Regions from separate parts of the Homo sapiens genome. Here region 2 is linked to region 1. The links are contacts of gene promoters, found by promoter capture Hi-C in human tissues and cell types (Jung and others, 2019). All regions are on one chromosome and are shown on one strand. The core of a region is centred on a gene start or on the middle of the fragment in contact, and the rest is flanking DNA. Distances in the headings are between cores, read along the strand shown.

Region 1 (4,674 bases), core at 1,844-4,343:
TATGTTTTTATGTTCCAGTGTGTTTACACAGCCCATAGTTCCCAATTGCCTTTATTTGCTTAAGTGTTTCTTTATTTACTTTTTTTTTTTTTTTTTGAAAAGAAGTCTCACTCTGTCGCCCAGGCTGGAGGGGAGTGGCACAATCTCAGTTCACCGCAACCTCCACCTCCTGGGTACAAGTGATTCTCCTGCCTCAGCCTCCTGAGTAGCTGGGATTACAGGCGCCTGCCACCAAGCCCAGCTAATTTTTTGTATTTTTAGTAGAGATGGGGTTTCACCATGTTGGCCAGGCTGGTCTCAACTCCTGACCTTGTGATCCACCTGCCTCGGCCTCCCAAAGTTCTGAGATTACAGGCATGAGCCACCGGCCTATTTACATTTTTATATATGTTGCTTTGCTTACATAACTCATTGTTCGGAGTGGGCTAGAAATAACCATAAATCCCCATTGCTAATTAGCCTCATCCTCATGACTGATTAGTCAAGATTATGAGTCTAGAAGGAGGGCAGAGAGGAGTCCTAATAGTGAGTCACAGGATTATTGAATTTTACAGCTGGAAGGAATCTTAGAATTTAAGGCATCTTTCAGTTAGAATTCTGTGGTTTTGCATCCTCAGCGTTGGAGAATTATGAAAGGTTGACCGCTTGCTCCTGCGCCTTTTGGCAAAAATGCTTAAGAATTTGGTGACAGCTTTAAAAAACAAATTAAGAATAAAGAAAAAACCCAATCAATGACGATTATAAGTAACCCATAATGGGGGCTTCAAAGAAGAATTGGAAACTTGACATATCAATGGGGTATAGAAGAGCAGAGAATATTAATGAACATGAAGGGGGTTCTTCTTTGGAGGTAAGTAAGCAGAGTGGATTTTTTGGAACTCCCTCCTCAGCAGCTGTGCAGTTTGTAAGGATTTTAGCTTGCCTAACTGTAAGCTTAGCTATTAGCTTTGCAGTGGGGAGTATTTAAAAGTACACACAACATATGAAGGAAAGAACCTGGAACCGAGTAGCCTGCTTCATTCCAAGAATCCATCTGGCATTTAAAGAACTGCTTGTCCTACATTAAACCCTGCAGAGTAAGAGCCATTTTTCATATCCTCATACCCCTATTTTTGGTTTCAGGTAAGACAGCTTACTGAGTTTGGAGAAGGAACAAAGAGACTTTTCCGAACCACCGAACCAAAGGACTCATCTAGGGTGAGCTCAATGAATCTAAAATCGGGAACACACATTGCAGCCCCTGTTTGGGAAATCAGCTTAAGAGCAATCTCAAGTCTCCACAAGAGGCGGAGGTCCATATTCCAAAATAATGTGAGCCTTCAGTTATTTGTAGGTAGAATTCAATGGAAGAAGGGGTGTTATAGATACGAAAAATCGTGGCTGGCGTTACCAACATTAAATGACTCGTGGTGATGGGGTAAGTTGACAAGTGAAATCCAGTCTCTTCCTAAACAAACGTATCTTTGTAATGAAGAGCTCGTTTTTGCAGCTTCAGTACATCTGGAGGCATCGAATAGCAAACGCTGCCAAAGGAGTAGTCCCTGGATTATCAGGAGTTGCAGAGTGTGTAAAGTGTTGTAAACCTTGAAATTAGTCCTGGACTGAAGGCACTTTCCCTCCTCCCAGACTCGCTTCTCTCTGACACATTTCCCCTTTCAATGGAAAGTCTATGGCAGTCAGGTCCACTCAGCTCAGACTTCAAGTATGTGAGACCACAGGTTCCCACCTTAACTGGTCACCCATTGAGGGACAGCACAAGACCCCGGTGCTGGCGCCAACGCTGAGCTGCGCCCTCTCGGTTACCATGGCGACCGCAGGCGGGGCGAGGCCCCCACTCGCCGCTTCCCCGCCTCTGCCCAGAACCTTTCGAACGCTCCAATTGGGACGACCCTTTCTTGCCTCTGTCCCGCCCCATTCGGCTCTAAGCGCTTTGCGATTGGCCCGGGACGAGCGGCCTGGTACCCAGAGGGCACCACCTCCTGACAGGAAGAGCGGGAAAGTGCACCAGGAGCTGTCCGAGGCGTGAAGCTCACGGGCGCGGCGGGGGAGCACACGGTTGGCTTTGCAGCGAGTTGCCCACTGTCCCATACACAACCCCCCGCTCCCATGACTGCCAAAAGCATGGAGCAGGAGTCGGGGTGCGGGCACACCGTTTGTGGGCCGGCCCGGTCTATCCCGGGGGGCTAGGACGCGACGAGGTTGGAGCGAGGATCCGGCGGCACACTCCGGAGCGCGGAGTATCAGAGGCCAGAGGGAACGGGCCGGGCCCCGGGGGCGGTGCCGGCGGCGGCGGCGGGAGGCGCAGAGCCCAATGAGCGCGCGCACCGCCCCGGGGGCGGGGTCTGAGGAGCGCTCCCCCGCCCTTGCCAGCCCCCGTCCCTCCCCCCGGCGCGGGGCCGCAGTGAGTGAGTGGCACTGGCAGCCTGTCAATCCCTCGGCCCAGCGGCCTTCCAGCCCGGTCCGCGGCGGCTGCTGGCTGGGTGCGCGGCTCCGGCGGCGGCGGCGGCGACTTCTCCCGCCCTATCCATCGGCTGTCCGCCCGGCGCGCGGCCCGCCGGGGCCCTCCTCCGGGCTCAGCGCCCCCGCCGCCTCTGCCCGCCCGCTCCCAAACTTTCCTCCTCCGCCCCCCCTCGCTCCCCGCGGCCCGCCCGCAGGCCTCCTCCTCCGCCGCCGCCCGCCGCCGCCGCCGCTGCCTCCCCCGGGGCCGCCGGGGCTCGGATCCCGCCTGGCCGAGGCGGCGGCGGCGGCCGAGGAGGGCAGTGCGCAGGCTGGCGCGGGGGGCGGCGGGCGTCCCGGCAACTCGGCGGGCGCTGAGGAGCAAGTTGCGCGGGGCCGCCCGGCGGGGCGCGCGGCGGCGAGGAGGCGGCGCGGCGGCCGCGTGAGGGCAGCGGGCGCCGCCGCCTCCGCCTCCGCCACCGCCGCGGAGCCCGGCGCTTCCGCCCGCCGCTTCTCCTCAGCCTCGGCGGCGGCGGAAGCCGGAGCCGGGCGCCCGTCCTCATCGCCTCAGCCGCGGGCCCTGCCGGCCGGGCCGCCCCCTCCCCGCGCGGGCGGGGAGCGCGCGGCCGCCTCCCCCTCCCCCTCCCCCTCTTTCTTCTCCTCCCTCGTCGCCGCCGCCGCCGCCGCCGCCTCAGCCTTCGCCTCAGCCGCCGCCCGCTCCCGCCCGCGCGCGGCGGGATGGACGATCAATCCAGGATGCTGCAGACTCTGGCCGGGGTGAACCTGGCTGGCCACTCGGTGCAGGGGGGCATGGCCCTGCCGCCTCCCCCGCACGGCCACGAAGGGGCGGACGGCGACGGCAGGAAGCAGGACATCGGCGACATCCTCCACCAGATCATGACCATCACCGACCAGAGCTTGGACGAGGCGCAAGCAAAGTTGGTGTCGTCTCATTAAGCATCTTTTGTGTGTGTGCGGGAGCCGGGCCCGCGGCCGAGTCGAGGCCCGGGGTGGCGCCCGGGGCTAGGGCCGCAGCCCCCGGCGGGGAACTTTCTCCGAAAGCCGGCCGCCCGCCCCGGCCTCGGGGGGACTTGCCCGCGCCCCCCGAAGCGGGCGGGAGTCGGCAAAGTTGCTCTGGGGGGCTCGGGACGGACTCGGTGCGGCGCGGATTCCGTGGCGTCCTTTCCCCCGTCCTGCCCCTCGCAGCCCGGCCCCCTCCCAGGGATTTAAACCTCCCGCCCCGACCCCGTGCGGGCCGCGCCGCCGGGAAGTGTAACTTTCTCCTCCGGCGGGGAGTCCCGGCGCCGGCTCCCGCGGCCGCGGGACGACCTCGCGATGCGGGCGGCCACCCGGGCCCGGCGCGGGGCGATGGGCGGTTCCCTGGCGGGTCCGGGTGCGGACGGCCAAGTTCTCGGAGAGGGAGGGCCGCCTTGCAAACTTTGCCGAGCTGTCACCCTCCCGCTGGCCGCAGTCGGCCGGCCTCCTCTGCACAGGAGCGGACGCGGGAGCCCCTCCGCACCCGTCCCCTCCCCCGGGTCGCCTTCGCCTGCCCCCGGGGCGAGGCTCCCCGCGCGGGTTCGCGTCGCGTCTGCAGTGGCCGAGGCTGCTGCCTGCCGGGCAGATGGGTCCGCCTTGTTCCGGCTGCAGCTTTCGCCGCCGGGGCTTGCTGGCTGTCGGGAACTAGTCAACTGGAGTTTTTGTTGACTTCCCACGGTTCAAAAGGGCCTTCCAGAATGGGGGGCTGGAATTAAATCTTGGGTCTAACTTAAAGGAAGGCGCCATATTATTCCATAGGTGATGCTAATACCTTTGTGTTTCGTTATTTGTTTTTTAGGAAACATGCCCTGAACTGTCACAGAATGAAACCAGCGCTCTTCAGCGTCCTGTGTGAGATCAAAGAGAAAACAGGTAAGACGCTGCGCCCCGCAGTGGGCCTGGAGACCCCCGAGGTGGGGGTCGGAGCTACTCCTTCGACTCTCCAGTTGAGAGCTGCTGCTTTTGGGCACCGCCATCTTTGATCATTCTCTCCTTCCCACGTCCTGATCTTGAGAAAAAACTGCAATAAATCTGGAGTCAATTTCTCAGTTCTGCTCCTGGTGTAAAATGAAGTGTAGGTGCGGACCGGGCTGGATCGCCGTCCCTCGGCGGCCGCCCCTGGCTGCAGGCGGGGAGGGGGCCCGGAGCGCCAGCCGCCCTCTTCCCTCTCCTTTCGCCTTGTTTGTGTGTCAGTTTTTAAAA
Region 2 (4,621 bases), core at 1,116-3,615, 1.1 Mb after region 1:
GGCTTTTAAGAATAATGCAGTTATGAACATTCATGTACGAGTTTTAGTGTGGACATCATATGTTTTCATTTTTCTTGGGTATGTACCTAGGAGAATTGTTGAATTAACGTGGTAACTCTATGTTTAACTCCCTGAGGTGCTGTCACACTGCTTTCCACAGTAGCTGTACCATTTTACATGCCCACCAGCAATGTATGGAGGTTATAATACCTACACATCCTCACCGACACCTGTTATTGTCTGTCTGTCTTTTGACAGCCATTTTAGTGAGTGAAAAGGGATGTTTAGTAGTTTTGATTTGCATTTTTCTAATTACTAATGATGTTGAGTGGTTTTCATATGCTTATAGGTTATTTGTATATCTTCTTTGGAGAAATGTCTCTTCAGATCCTTTATCTGTTTTTCAGTTGGGTTATTTATCTTTTTATTATTGAGTCATAAGAGTTCTTGAGGTATTCTGGATGCAAGTCACTCATTAGTTACATGATCTGCAAATAATTTCTCCTATTCTGTGGGTTGTGTGTTCACTTTCTTGATGGTATCATTTGTACCTTGTACTACTGCTGTATCTTCCTGCTGACCAGTTCTGTCAGTCTCATCAATGCCACCCCTTTTCCATACCCACTGTTACTTTTTTTTTTTTTCTTTTTTTTGAGATGTAGTTTTGCTCTTGTTGCCCAGGCTGGAGTGCTTTGGCATGATCTCGGCTCACTGCAACCTCCGCCTCCCAGGTTCAAGCAGTTCTGCTGTCTCAGCCTCCCGAATAGCTGGGATAACAGATGTGTGCCACCACGCCCGGCTAACTTTGTATTTTTAGTAGAGACAGGGTTTCACCATGTTGGCCAGGCCGGTCTGGAACTCCTGACTTCGAGTGATCCACGTGCCTCAGCCTCCCAAAATGCTGGGATAAAAGACGTGAGCCACCATGCCTGGCCCCACTGTTACTTTTATTACTACCTAGACTACACTTATTGAAATCCTATAATTAGCTTCTACTTCAGACTTTCTCCTGCTTTAGTCCGTCAGCAGATCAACCTTCCTTAACCATGCCTCACAGCACGTCACTTAGAAGTTTTCAGTGCTGCCCCAATGTAGACGTCTCATTCGGCTTTTTCTAGATTTATCTCCCATCACTCATTGTCACTCATAGAAGGAAGCACAAGTAATGATGTGTGTGTCACCAGGGTTAGTCTTGAGTGAAAGAGAGCCGAGGGAGATCTGAAATGGCTTTCTGATGGTAATTTCACCATAATCTAGGATCTTGCCGTTAGTGTGATTGGACCAATAACTCAGTGTCTTCAACATATCATACTTATGATGTACCAAACCCGCAAGAGATTAAAGTATACAAACCAGAATGCCATGTGATTTATAATTTTTCTTTCTATGTTAATAAGTGAGATTGGCTTGTAGGGTTTTTTTTGTTGTTGGCCAATTTTGATACCAGAGTTTTGTATAAAATTTATGAATTTTCTCCTACCCTATTGCCTTGTCCTCTTCTCCCCCTCTACTTTTTACATTTCTAGTTTTATCATATTGTGTAATCCATTGTATAGTCACATGTAATCAAATGTGCCCTGTGCATTTCCGCTTTGGAGAATTTATTGATGTTCTCTGTAGCCACGTATATTATCATTTTTGTAAATGTCCTACAGACAGTAGAAAAGGAGTATTATTTGTAGAGTATATAGGTATTGCATTAAATTAGCTTTATTGATAGCTGTCTAAACCTATAGATTCTTGTCCTTTGCCTACTTGATTTATTAAGAATTAAAGAGGGATACTTATATTTCCTGCTACAATTACAGTTCTGTTACTGTTGCCTTATTTTCTAACATTGTACTCTGACACATAAAAGTTCACAGAGTAAACTTCATTGTGAATTATAGGTTTCATCAGTTAACAATAAACTTTCATCCTGATTTTTACAGATGAAATTTACATCTGTAAAATTTTTACAGATGAAATTTACATCTGTAAAATGTAAATTTTACATCTGTAAAAATTTTACAGATGAAATTTACAAAGTAAATTTACATTGAAATTTACTTTGATATTAGTATTGTGTTGCTTGACTTTTGTTTTCATGTGACTTTTTTTTTTTTAAACTTTTGACCTTTTTGGTGATAAATTCTTTCAACTTTTCTATGTCTGAAAAAGTATTTTGGGCCGGGCGCGGTGGCTTACGCCTGTAATCCCAACACTTTGGGAGGCCGAGGTGGGCAGATCACGAGGTCAGGAGATCGAGACCATCCTGGCTAACACAGTGAAACACTGTCTCTACTAAAAATACAAAAAATTAGCCGGGCATGGTGGTGGATGCCCGTAGTCCCAGCTACTTGGGAGGCTGAGGCAGGAGAATGGTGTGAACCCAGGAGGCGGAGCTTGTAGTGAGCTGAGATTGCACCACTGTACTCCAGCCTGGGCAACAGAGCAAGACTCTGTCTAAAAAAGAAAGAAAGAAAGAAAGAAAAAGTATTTTGCCTTCACTTTGAAGATACTTTCATGGGTATAGAATTCTAAGTTGACAGGCCTTTCCGCCCCCTCCCCCACCTTCATTTCAGTATTTTAAAATGGTCTCCTGTCTCCTGGCTTGCATTGCTTCTGAGGTTCTCTGTACACAAGGGGCCTTTTTTTTGTCTGGCTGCTTTTAAGATTTTCTCCACTGATTTTAAGTGATTTGATTATGATGTGCCTTGCTGTAGTTTTTTTCATGTTTCTTGTGCTTGGAGTTTGTTGAGCTGCTTAGGTCTGTGAGTTCGTAGTTTTCATCAAATTTGAAAAAGTTTTGGCTGTTGTTTTCACATATGTATAAAATGTATGTGTGTATGTGTGTATTGTTTATATATATAGTTTTCAATATATAAAACTATATATATAGTTTTCAATATATAAAACTATATATATATAGTTTTCAATATATAAAACTATATATATATAGTTTTCAATATATAAAACTATATATATAGTTTTCAATATATAAAACTATATATATAGTTTTCAATATATAAAAATATATATATATATATAGTTTTCATGTGTCTGATAGCTTATCACATAAAACTTTTTGCCTTCCCCACAACAATCATGTCTACATTAGGTATCTGGAAGTTGTCTCACAGCTCACTGATACTCTATTCCCTTTTTATTTGCCTTTTTTTTTCCTCTGTATGTTTTATTTTGGGTAAGTTTTTGTTGCCATGTTTTCAAGCTCACTAATGTTCTGCAGTGTCAATTCTGTTGTTATTCTCATCCCAATGTATGTTTGTTTTTTAAATTTCTAGATGTTTTATTTGGGTCTCTCTCTCTCTCTCTTTTTTTTTTTTTCAATAGTTTCCCTGTCTGTACCTAACATGCTTAATCTTTCCTCTACTTTCTTGAAAATATAGAATATAGAATTGTTTACCAGTTGTATAAATCTTCTGTCATTTCTGGATCTGTTTCTGTTGATTGATTCCCACCCCCACCTCAGTATCCTGGGTTATATTTTCCTAGTTCTTGGCATGCCTGGTGATTTTTAAATTTGATGTCAGATATGAGTTTTACCTTGTTCGGTGCTGGATATTTTTGTATTATGTAAATGTTCTCAAGTTTCATTCTGGAACATAATTAAGTTAGAAACAGTTTGATCCTTCTGAGGCTTGTTTTTAAGCTTTGTTTGGCAGGACCAGAACTGCATTTTGTCTGGAATTAATTTGTCCCCACTACTGAGGTAAGGCTTTTCTGAATACTCAAGGTTTTCCATTCAGGGCAGTTTTCTTCAATTAAATTTATTTTTTATTATTTCACGTTCTCTGGTTCTTTCTCTCAAGGACATTAACGGGCTGTACATCGATCTCTCTTCTCTGTTCTCCTGCTTTATCATCTTCTCTCTCGCTGTTTTCACTTTCTTGTATTTTAGTAGAAGGTCCCCAAAGTGCCTTCCACATTATCGATTCCATTTTTTTACTGTTGTAATTCTGCTTCTTATTGCCTGTGTAAATTTCTGCTCTATATTAGTTTCCTGATACCCTATCATTAATTCAGTCTGCCCTTTTTTCATATCATTCTACTGTTTTGTCTCATCTTCCTTATACTTTATTCAGAGACTGTGTTTTCATGAAGTTTGTGAAAAACATTTTAAAAATTGTTTAAAATGTACTCTTTGTCTATTTCTTGCTATTTTTTCTTTTTGATATTCTGGAATATATCCACAGACCTGTGTTGGTTTTATTTTGTTTAATTCTTGAGAGGGAAACATTCTGTTCAGGTCTGAAATTTGCTTTTGGGTCCCTTGTTGTATACCCGAATATTGTTAGAATCAGCTCTTAGTTCTTAAGCTAGATGCAGGGCTGAACCACATTGACATCTGGGATTAGTTGAGTGGGGCTGGAGGGGTAGGCCTTAGGCCCTCTCAGGGGAGCTTGAGCTCTGTGTACTTTCTTTGCAGTTGGTGAAATTGGGATACTAGGACCCTCTGTTGTCTTTGGCCCAACTGGCAAATGATGGCTATGCCTTTACCTCCTTCCTGGGGCTACGGAGTCCCACCCCCTTATGTTAATATTTTTTCCTTCTGCCAAGGTAATGTGCAACCTTTGGTATCCTAATACCACCCACCTCTGAGTTTTGCCAGTCTGCAGGA

Evidence for each region. Contacts are between HindIII fragments. The study calls those that stand out against the background at their distance.
Region 2: a contact is called between a fragment that was not itself captured here and the fragment with the promoter of PBX3 in region 1, in 1 of the 25 tissues and cell types used here (IMR-90 fibroblasts).

What each region holds. Positions count from the first base shown.
Region 1 is chr9:125,744,280-125,748,953 of GRCh38, forward strand. PBX3 (PBX homeobox 3) reads left to right here and starts at 3,094. Exons shown (of 9, transcript NM_006195.6): 1 at 3,094-3,374; 2 at 4,271-4,344. The coding sequence starts at 3,175. PBX3-DT (PBX3 divergent transcript) reads right to left here and starts at 1,650. Exons shown (of 2, transcript NR_122032.1): 1 at 1,137-1,650. RefSeq lists silencers at 2,189-2,618, 2,869-2,918, 2,929-3,458, 3,729-4,068. The HindIII fragment of the contact is 5,465 bases long and covers 1-4,674 here.
Region 2 is chr9:126,812,345-126,816,965 of GRCh38, forward strand. All of the region lies in intron 2 of ZBTB43 (zinc finger and BTB domain containing 43), which reads left to right. Among named protein-coding and RNA genes, the nearest start is that of ZBTB43, 9.6 kb to the left of the region's middle. The HindIII fragment of the contact is 6,307 bases long and covers 1-4,621 here.